Regions from separate parts of the Homo sapiens genome. Here region 1 is linked to region 2. The links are contacts of gene promoters, found by promoter capture Hi-C in human tissues and cell types (Jung and others, 2019). All regions are on one chromosome and are shown on one strand. The core of a region is centred on a gene start or on the middle of the fragment in contact, and the rest is flanking DNA. Distances in the headings are between cores, read along the strand shown. Region 1 overlaps PRKCE (protein kinase C epsilon). Region 2 holds the start of SRBD1 (S1 RNA binding domain 1).

Region 1 (4,844 bases), core at 701-3,200, 150 kb before region 2:
ACCTTGCCAGCTTAGCCACTGGCCAAATTACCTTCATCGTGTCACGCCTTGGTGTTCAATCCTCCACGCTTATGAAGGCTTTTGTTGTCGATGGACCTATGTTTATTATGCCACTGTGTCTTTTATGTAAACTCCCACATGAGAAAATGATTTTAGAAAAATGTGCCAGGAAGAATTTTGCCTCCCCTGAAGAGTTGGTAGACTTTCCCCTTTCTGATCAATAAAGCTGTGCGATTCACCTGGTTTTCATTATGTCCTGGCTGCCAAGAAGTGCAAAACCAAATCCAGTGCTCAACTGGAGCAACCATACTAGCCACTTTCTTTCTTTCTGTGGCCTTGATTTTCTATTTGTGTGTTAATTTTATTGGATAAGGTGGTTTGCAGGAAGATGCCTCCATCCTGAGAAGACAGAGGCAGGTCAGGAACCAAGTAAAAGCAATACATTCTACCCCTAATCTCTTCTCCTTTTCACAGCCTGCCTCCTCCAAGTAACCTTCCCTGATCACCTCACTCCACAGAGATTGCTCCCTCCTGTAATTCCAGCAGCTGTTACAGCCCTTTCCTGCAGCACTTTCAAATGCATCTGCTTTTGCGTGCATAGGTATTGTCCCTCCTAACTGGGACCTAAGCTAAGACTCAAGGGCTGCTCCCATGCCCTTCAGTATCCCCCATAAAATCTAACTACACATTAGAAACTCAAAGAATAGCATAGGCATGATCCATCACCTGCAACAGAAGCAGTGAGGAGACTTAAGCCAGGATTCCTCCAAGAGATTCCACCGCCCCTCCCTGCATCTCTGAATGCCGGACTCCTAAGCATTTACTCAGATTTTAAACAGCACATAATGCCATGGCGAGGATGATCCCTGTGAATGCTTTTAGCAGATTACTCACCACACTGACTAGCTATTTCTGTCTTACTCCTGAGATCATAACCGAGGCACTTCTATACTTACATCAAAGAGTGTAATAACTGACATTTCAGATTACAGCTACGTGGAGGTCTGCCCTTAAGGAGATGGCGCTAATTGCTGAATGTGAGGAACAACAGGCATCTCCCAGCCACCGCAGCCCTTGCTTCCTGCAGGAGCTCAGGTGTGAAAAGAGAGGCTTGGTCTCTCAAGGTCTGAGATGCACGGGAAGCCTCACAGCAGTAGCGTCCCAGCTGGGCCGAGCTCGTTCTCCAGCCCTGCACCGACATGGATAAATCGGAGCCATCTGGCTGGCTCCTCCTCTCACACGTGTGTCAGCTCCTCTCCAGCCTCCAGGCCCCGTCAGCCTAATGTGCTCCTTATGCCCAGAACCTGGAGTCAGCTGTCCTTCAAAACAGAGCAGCTCAAGACATACTAAAACCATGAGCCCACATACCACTTATTTGTCACTTATTTGTCATTTTATCAATACTGCCTTGTTCTGGCATATTCTGTCCCTGTATGTGTCTAGAGAAGGGGTTCTCAATGGAGGGCAGGGGCAGGGGACAGCACAGTGCCCCATTGGGGAGAGGGGAGAGTTTGGAAAGTCATCTTCAAAATCACCTATAAATAACTAAATTCACTTTGTAAATTCAATCACCCTGTGGGAGGCATGACCCGGAAGCTCTCCTGCTATCTCATGAGTGCTGATACTCTCCCACGGTCCCTTCACCATATCACTCCCTTGTTCAAGACAACACGCCGGACTCCCCACAAATTCACATCACCTTCAGGCTGCAATGCACCCTCTGCACTTTACAGGTGAGGAGGCTGAGGCCTGAAGACGCTAGGTGATTCACCCCTAAGACACAGCCTAATAAATCTTCTAGTCAACAAAAATTTATTGAGCATCCACTACATTCCAGGCAGTGTCCTAGGCTCAGGGGACATAACTGTAGAGAAAACAAAGTCCATATTCTTAAAGAGCTTACAGAACTTCCATTCTAGTGGGAGGAAGGAAAAATAAGCAAATAAAGATACATACCTATGTTAGGCAGTAGGGGAGGAAGGGCCTGCAATTTTCAATATAGTGGCTGGCGAAGGCCTCTCTGATGGGGTAACATTTGGGCACAGATCAAAATATGTGAGGGAGTGAGGCAGGAGTTCATCTCAAGGAAAAGTGTTCCAGGCAGAGTTGTCTCAGCAAGTGCAAAGACTCTGAGGTAGGGACAAGCTAGAAGCAGTTTCTCAAACTTTTGTTTAGGGGTTCTCACTGCTGTACCTATTGCTTGTTTTGTAATAATCCTAGCATTCAAGATTCTCCCCAAGAGTAGATAATAATTACAGTAGCAATAACATTTATTAAGCACTTAGTTTATGCCAGGCATGGTTCTAAATACTTTTCATGCAGTAATTCATTTAATGTTCAGTGTAACATCATGAGGTATGTATTACTATTCCCATTTCACAGATGGAAAAACCAAGGCACAGGGAACTTAGGTCATTTACCCAAAGGTTGCCCAGTTTTTAAGTGGTGCAGCCAGGATGCATAGAGAGGCAATCTGTCTCAGCCCATCTAGCTTTCATTCTTGAAAGTAGCCCCTTGCACCCTCAGCCTTCTCTGTACTGGTCTCCCCTGGTTCTTCAACAAAGCCTGTTGATTCCGTCTTTTAGGCCTTGCTTATTTTGTACCTCACTGCCTTTAACATTGTCCCCAGTCATTGAAGTCACTTGGATCCTACATCTGCCCCAGAGCTTCCCTTGACTAGTCCTCAAAGGCAGTTCCTTTTGTTTTTGCCAGCATCAACCTCCGTCAAGACCTGCCTTATGTACATTCAGTTTTGACAGTGGTCCTCCCCTGCCATCCTAAGCACGCTGAGGCTATTTTTTCTCCTCTCATTTCCAATGAAATGAATGAATTCCATGTGGGGGATGGGAATGTAAGGAGTTGGCAATAATGGCTTGTTTAACTGACTTGCATTGAATCTCTAAATTATCACTTTTATTTATTATTTATTATTTTTTAATAGAGACAGGATTTTGCTCTGTCACCCAGGCTGGAGTGCAGTGTTGTGATCATGGCCACTGTAACCTCTAACTCCTGGGCTCAAATGATCCTCCTGCCTCAGCCTTCCAAGTTACTGGCACTACAGCTGCATGCCACCACATCCAGCTAATTTTATTATTTTTTGTAGAGACACAGTCTCACTATGTTGCCCAGACTGGTTTTAAACTCCTGTCCACACGCAATTCTCCTGCCTTGGCCTCCAAAAGTATTGGGATTACAGGCATGAACTATGATGCCCAGCTCTTTATAATAGCTTTATTAATGGACAGTTTACCCACAATCAATTGAACACTCTTTTTTTTTTTTTTTTTTTTTTTTTTTGGAGACAGTCTCACTCTGTTGCCCAAGCTGGAGTGCAGTGGTGCAATCTCAACACACTGCAACTCCGCCTCCTGGGTTCAAGTGATTCTCCTGCCTCAGCCTCCCAAGTCGCTGGGATTACAGGCATGCACCACCTGTCTCTATAGGTGTCTCTAAATTAGCGTGATACAGGTGTCTCACCTGTCTCTAAATTAGCCTGGCTAATTTTTGTATTTGGAGTAGAGATGGGGTTTCACCATGTTGGCCAGACTGATCTCAAACTCCTGACCTCAAGTGATCCACCCGCCTCGGCCTCCCAAAGTGCTGGGATTAGAGGCATGAGCCACCACGCCCAGCTGAACACTCTTTAAATAAGAGTAAACCTTGATAAGTTTTGACACACATATACCCCTGTGAAACCATCACATAATCAAGATTATGAACATATCCTTCAGCCCACAAAGTTTCCTCATAGAGTTTATAATCTCTTGCTCCTGCCCCTCCCACACAACCTCCATCCTGAGGCAACCACTGTTTTACTTCCTATCTTATAGATTAGCTTGCATTTTCCAAAATGTTATATGAATGGAATCATATAATGTGCATTCCAAATTGTCTGTTTTTTTCACTCAGCATAATTATTTTGAGATTAATCCATCCATTCCTTTTTATTACTAAATAGTATCCATTGTATAGATATACCACAATTTGTTTATCCATTCTATCTTGATGAAAGATTGGGTTGTTTCCAGTTTAAGACTATTACAAGTGAAGCTGCTATGAACATTCATGACAGATTTTGAATGGACAAATGCTTTCATTTATCTTGAATTAAGGCCTAGAGTGAAATGGCTGGATCACATGGTAGGTTTACGTTTAACTTTTTAAGAAACTTGCAAAATGTTTTCCAGAGAGACTATACGATCAAACTTTTTCTACATCTGAAGTTTTGTACTTTCCCATCCTCTCTAATCCACCCCACTATTTCCTTTCCAGCAGAACCCCTAGAGCCTGGGAGCAGGATACCCTTAATCCTCTTCTTCCTCTCTGCCCTATCATCTGGTATTTGGAGGCATGCTTTTTCAAAGAAGTCCAGGATCCTAGAAAACAGGGTGGATCTTCATCTGATAAGCAAATGTTTATCCCTGTCTTAACCTGACTCATCCCCATCAGTCTCACCAAAGACTGGAGTCAGCATCATGTTTTAAGAATTCTGTAGCCACTCTTCCCTGCGGTCAGCCTCTATAGTCCTTGGCAGTTCATTGTGTGTCTAGTAAACGCCCAGAAGCCAGTGGTTCCCAGCGAATTAGCTGCAACTCCTTATTATACCCAGCAGTGGGGATGCAAAGTCTCCTCTGATCCTCCCAACACGGAATCCACTCTCCATCCTCCTCCCTTCTACCTTCTCCAATTCTCCGAGTGCCAACCAGTTCCAGCTGCCTTTAAGGAAGTTTCTTCTGGTGACTCCAGCCCCAAGGAGCTTTCCCTCCTCTGAACTTGACAGCCCCTGTCTGAGCCAGTTCTTTAGGACTCACTAAGCCCAGCAGCCTTGCATTTCGTTGGGC
Region 2 (4,557 bases), core at 1,268-3,767:
TTTCAGGTGGTTAGACAGTACTTTATTTAGAGTATTTAGAGATTCGACAGTTCTGGAGCACCTTAAACATTGAGAGTCTCACTGGCCACCATAGTGGAGCGAGAAAAGGTCTTTGCTTTGAGTTTGTGGTACAGCTGGCCATCTGTATCTGCATTCATGGATATGGAACCTGCAGATGTGGTGGGCCAACTTTTTCTATCACTGATTGGTTGAGTATCTGTAAATTTTGCTATCTGTGGGGGGTCCTCAGACCAATCCCCTGTGGATAGACAGCAAATTGTATGTGGATACCTTTCAGAGTACTTGCTTTGGAGTAAAGCAGATTATTGGATTTGAATCTCAGATCTACAATTTATTAGCTGATGTGACCTTAGATGAATTATTTAACTTCTTTATACCTGGTATTCTCATTTATAAAAATGGTTTAATAGCAATATTGCATTGGGGTAATATGTGAATTATATACATAAATACATCTAAAAGCATTAACTTAGTGCCTGGCACAGGTAAGTAATCAATAAAGGTAAGTTATTACTATTATTATTACATTTGCCCTGGGGAGCTAGAACCCATAGGGGAAGGACTTGAAAACAGATAATAACATACAAATGATAATGTATCAGTGAATATCATGGGAAGAGCTATATACTTTGGAGGGATAAAACAACCTCCATCAAATCCAAAACATGTTTTCATTACTCCCAAACCCTATTGCATAGTCTCAGGTGGGTGTCCGGATTATTCCAGGCTTTCAGTCTAAACCCATGAATTTCTTGGAATTCAGCACTTGAGATCCAAAAGTAAACAATAGATTGGGCAATGTCCTAGACAGAAAAGGCAGTTTTTGTGGGAGGGCCTGTTTTATACTTAAGTGATTACAAATTTTCCTTGACAGCGTGTAGTGGGAGTGACTCTCTTATAGAATTCCAAGGGAAATATTCTCTGGACAGTCCTTATTGGCCTTTAGAGTAGGCCACTACCTACATACTTTAATTTTAGAGAACCTGCTTCAGATTTTATTTTCCCCAGATGTCTGATGTCTAAAATCTTAACAGGCTATTTATTTTTGTGATTTTTTTTTTCTTCCCCAGCTGTAAGGCAAAAATCCCTTGTGGGGAGAGGAAAGTCAAGCTTCAATGCTTTGCTGGCCCACTCTTACTCTCCTCCTCACTGTAGTGTGGCTACTACCTGCATACCCAACCCTTGAAGCTAGACTGTTTTGCTTGGGTGTCTGTTTCCTCTGGCTGTATCTGGTTCCTACTCTTGGTCGTAAATTCCTCCAGGGCAGGACTTATGTCAAAAGACTTTGCAGTATATTAGTTCACCTTTACCCTTACTACCTCTGCAATGATTGGAATGTCCCCTTCAAAAATTCAAGTTGAAACTTGTCATTGTAATAGTATGAAGAGGTGGGACCTTTAGGAAATGATTAGGTCATGAATGAGTTAATTCCATTATCACAGGAGGGTTAGTTATTTCGGGAGTCAATTGGGTTCACATGCCTCCCCCACCCCTACCCCAGTATGATGCCCTCCATCATATTTTGACACAACAATAATGCCCTCTGTCTTGGACTTCCCAGCCTTCAGAACTACAAGCCAAACAAATCTCTTTCTTTATAAATCTACCAGTCTATGGTATTTGGTTACAGCAGCAGAAAATTGACCAAGACAACCCCTTACCATAAACCTGAGTAGCAAATGCAACATCAAAAGTAGGTGAATAGTAAGTAGTACATTATTGTTGTTGATTTCTATGATCTGGTTTCTCTTCCCACAATCCTGAACGGTAAGGTGTTCTCTAGTATTTCTTCAGGACCATAAATTGTGAAGGAGACTGTGATTGTAGTAGACAATTCTAGGCCTTCTGGAACCATCACTAAAGGCAACATACGACTGTGCTAATTAAAAGGAAAAAAAAATCCCTAAACAATCTCGGAAACTGATCTTTCCTGGCCAACAATCTCAGATATAGAAGATTAGATTTACTAAATTTAGAAAGAATCCTTTTTTTTTTCCCCCAATCACAAAAATTATCCAGTAAAATCTATGCTCACTTCCGGTAGATCTGCAACAAGGCACGGTCACAGGTCATTTCAATAACTTGCTAGGCTCTTCAGTACTCAGAGTCCCTGGAAATAAGTCATTAGCAGTGGAAAGCTGCTTTTTAGAATTTTCTAAAACAAATCCATGGGGTTTTGATCTGCTAAATTCGAATGTAGACAACAGCAGCCTTATTTCCCTACTTTTATAATCTAATTTATTTGGCTGTATCTGTGGGCTTAAGAGTTTAGTGTTCTTGGTAAATAACACGTAAAAAAAAAGTCATTTTTCATTTCTACGAACCAGCCCCACCCCGGCGCTCCCTCGGGATCCTCGCTCTAGCCCCGCCTCCGTCCAGCCTGGCTCCGCCCCGTTCGGTAGCGCCGCGCCTTGGAGGTCTGTGGCTAACTTGGTCCGGAAGAAGCGAGGCGGACCTTCTGGCGTTTGAAAAACTTCCGGCGGGAACCGGAAGGTGCGGTGGCACTCACGGAATCTCGGGTCTTCTGACGTGCCGGGCGGGAAGGTGAGCTGTGCGTGCGCCTTGGCGGTCGTCTTGCGGGTTCTCAAGAGCCCGGCGTCCGGGCTCCGGGATCTTTGGGGCCATTAAAAAAGTTCTGAGCGCTCATTTGGGCAATAACACCCCTTTTTTAAAAGTGAGAAGTTCATTACATTTTACTGTCAGCGGTCTCTCACAACCGACCACCCGAAAACCCCTCCTAGCTACCTCGTGACACCTCTTTTCAGCCAAATTGCTGCAGCTCTTAGCGCATAACAGACATAGAAAAGCCTGGGCAAGCCTGTTTTTTTTTTTTTTGAGACGGAGTCTCCCTCTGTCGCCCAGGCTGGAGTGTAGTGGAGCGATCTCGGCTCACTGCAAGCTCCGCCTCCCGGATTCACGCCATTCGCCTGCCTCAGCCTCCCGAGTAGCTGGGGCTACAGGCGCCCGTCATCACACCCGGCTAATTTACCTGGATTGTTTTTATACCTAAAATTATCGGAGGTGGGAGAGGAAGCACCCTTTTCACGGTCATGGTGGCCCTGTCTGAATCAACTGCACCTTCTGTAGTGCGCCTGGCATGTAGGAGGCGCTCAGTAACCGGAGGAAAGGAATGAATTGGGAACTCTCTAGGCAACTTTCCTCGAACCCCTCACGTGACATGTCATTAACATATTGTGTGTGGAATGGGAAACGAGACTAGTCTTGGTGTTCCAGGCACTGGGCTATAGTCCTTTGCCACATATCTTTCCCCTTTGAGTAAACTGTTTCACCTCATTGGGTCTCAGATTTCTGAATATAGCGGGACTGTCTGATCTCAGGTTCTTTCAGCTCTAGTATTTTGTTTTTGTGACTTGGGAATCTGCTAACATTCAAGCACTCTGTTGGTCCTTCATGGAAACTTGTTTAGGTGCTTCTTAAGAAATTGTCCTCCTTTGTTTGCCTTCTTGAATTTAAATTTTTTTTTCCAATTTTAATTTAGTATTTGTTAGTGTGCACGTCCTTTTGCCCCTTTGTCCTGATTTGCAGTCGTCCTAGTTTAGTGGCTCTTCCCTTAGTAACATCATAGCAACCTCCAAATTATTGGTTTGGAATATGCTCATGTGCCTACAGTGATTAAGATAGTTTGAAAGGAGGGAAAAATCCCAAGTCACTGAAGAATAGGAATATTCTTATGTGCCATCACTTCTTCAGAAAGAGATGAATGCAATGTGTGGCATTGCCTAAGAGTGGTGGAAAATAAATGTATATTCCTCTGTAGAGACCATATTTGTACATATTATGTTCATTTAATAGTTGTAGGGCATCTGTTAAGTGCTAGGTTCTATGATATGGAAGTGAATAAGGCACATGCATTTCCTTCTTTCATGGTATTTACTCTCTTGACAGCAGTGCAAGCAATAAACAAGTAAAATAAAAATAATTACAGATTGTGTTATAACCTACTGTATACAGGAAGTAAATAGGCTCCTTTTAAAATATAATTGAGAAACCTATTTTAGGCCTGAAATGTTAAGATCTAAGGGATGCAAGGAGCCAGCCAATTGACAAGCAGGGGGAAGAATACTCCAGGCAGAGAGTACCTGAGGTGGGAAAGAATGTTATGACAAGAGCTGAGGAGCTCCAGCAAGTAGTAAAGGTGGTTAGAAAGGTGAGCAGGGCTCAGTCCGACAGGGCCTTTTCAAAGGCCTCATAAAAATGTGGCTTGATTCTAAGTGAAGGATGGGGTGGGAAGTAATTCGTTGTTTCTAAAGCATATTCTAAATGATCTTGAGTTGATAAGTGGAGAATGAGTTGCAGGGGCAAGAGTGGAAGTAGGGAGGGCAGTTAAGAGGCGAGTGTGGTAGTTCAAGTGAGGGAGGTTGAGGACTAAAGGCTCACTGAAGATCGTGGAGATTCAAGACATTTTGGAGGAGGATCTTATGTGACTTACTAATAGTCTGGATATGTGAGATGAAAGAAAAAAAGATTTGTAACATTTTGACTTAGCAAATGGAACTTTGGAGGATGATAATGTGT

Evidence for each region. The method cuts DNA at HindIII sites, captures the fragments that hold promoters and counts their contacts. A contact is called where the count stands out against the background at its distance.
Region 1: a fragment that was not itself captured here is called in contact with the fragment with the promoter of SRBD1 in region 2 in 2 of the 25 tissues and cell types used here (bladder and liver).

The regions. Positions count from the first base shown.
Region 1 is chr2:45,755,762-45,760,605 of GRCh38, reverse strand. The region is part of intron 1 of PRKCE (protein kinase C epsilon); the gene reads right to left. Among named protein-coding and RNA genes, the nearest start is that of PRKCE-AS1, 83 kb to the right of the region's middle. The HindIII fragment of the contact is 6,911 bases long and covers 1-4,844 here.
Region 2 is chr2:45,609,227-45,613,783 of GRCh38, reverse strand. It overlaps SRBD1 (S1 RNA binding domain 1), which reads left to right and starts at 2,517. Exons shown (of 21, transcript NM_018079.5): 1 at 2,517-2,565. RefSeq lists an enhancer at 2,697-2,866. The HindIII fragment of the contact is 13,717 bases long and covers 1-4,557 here.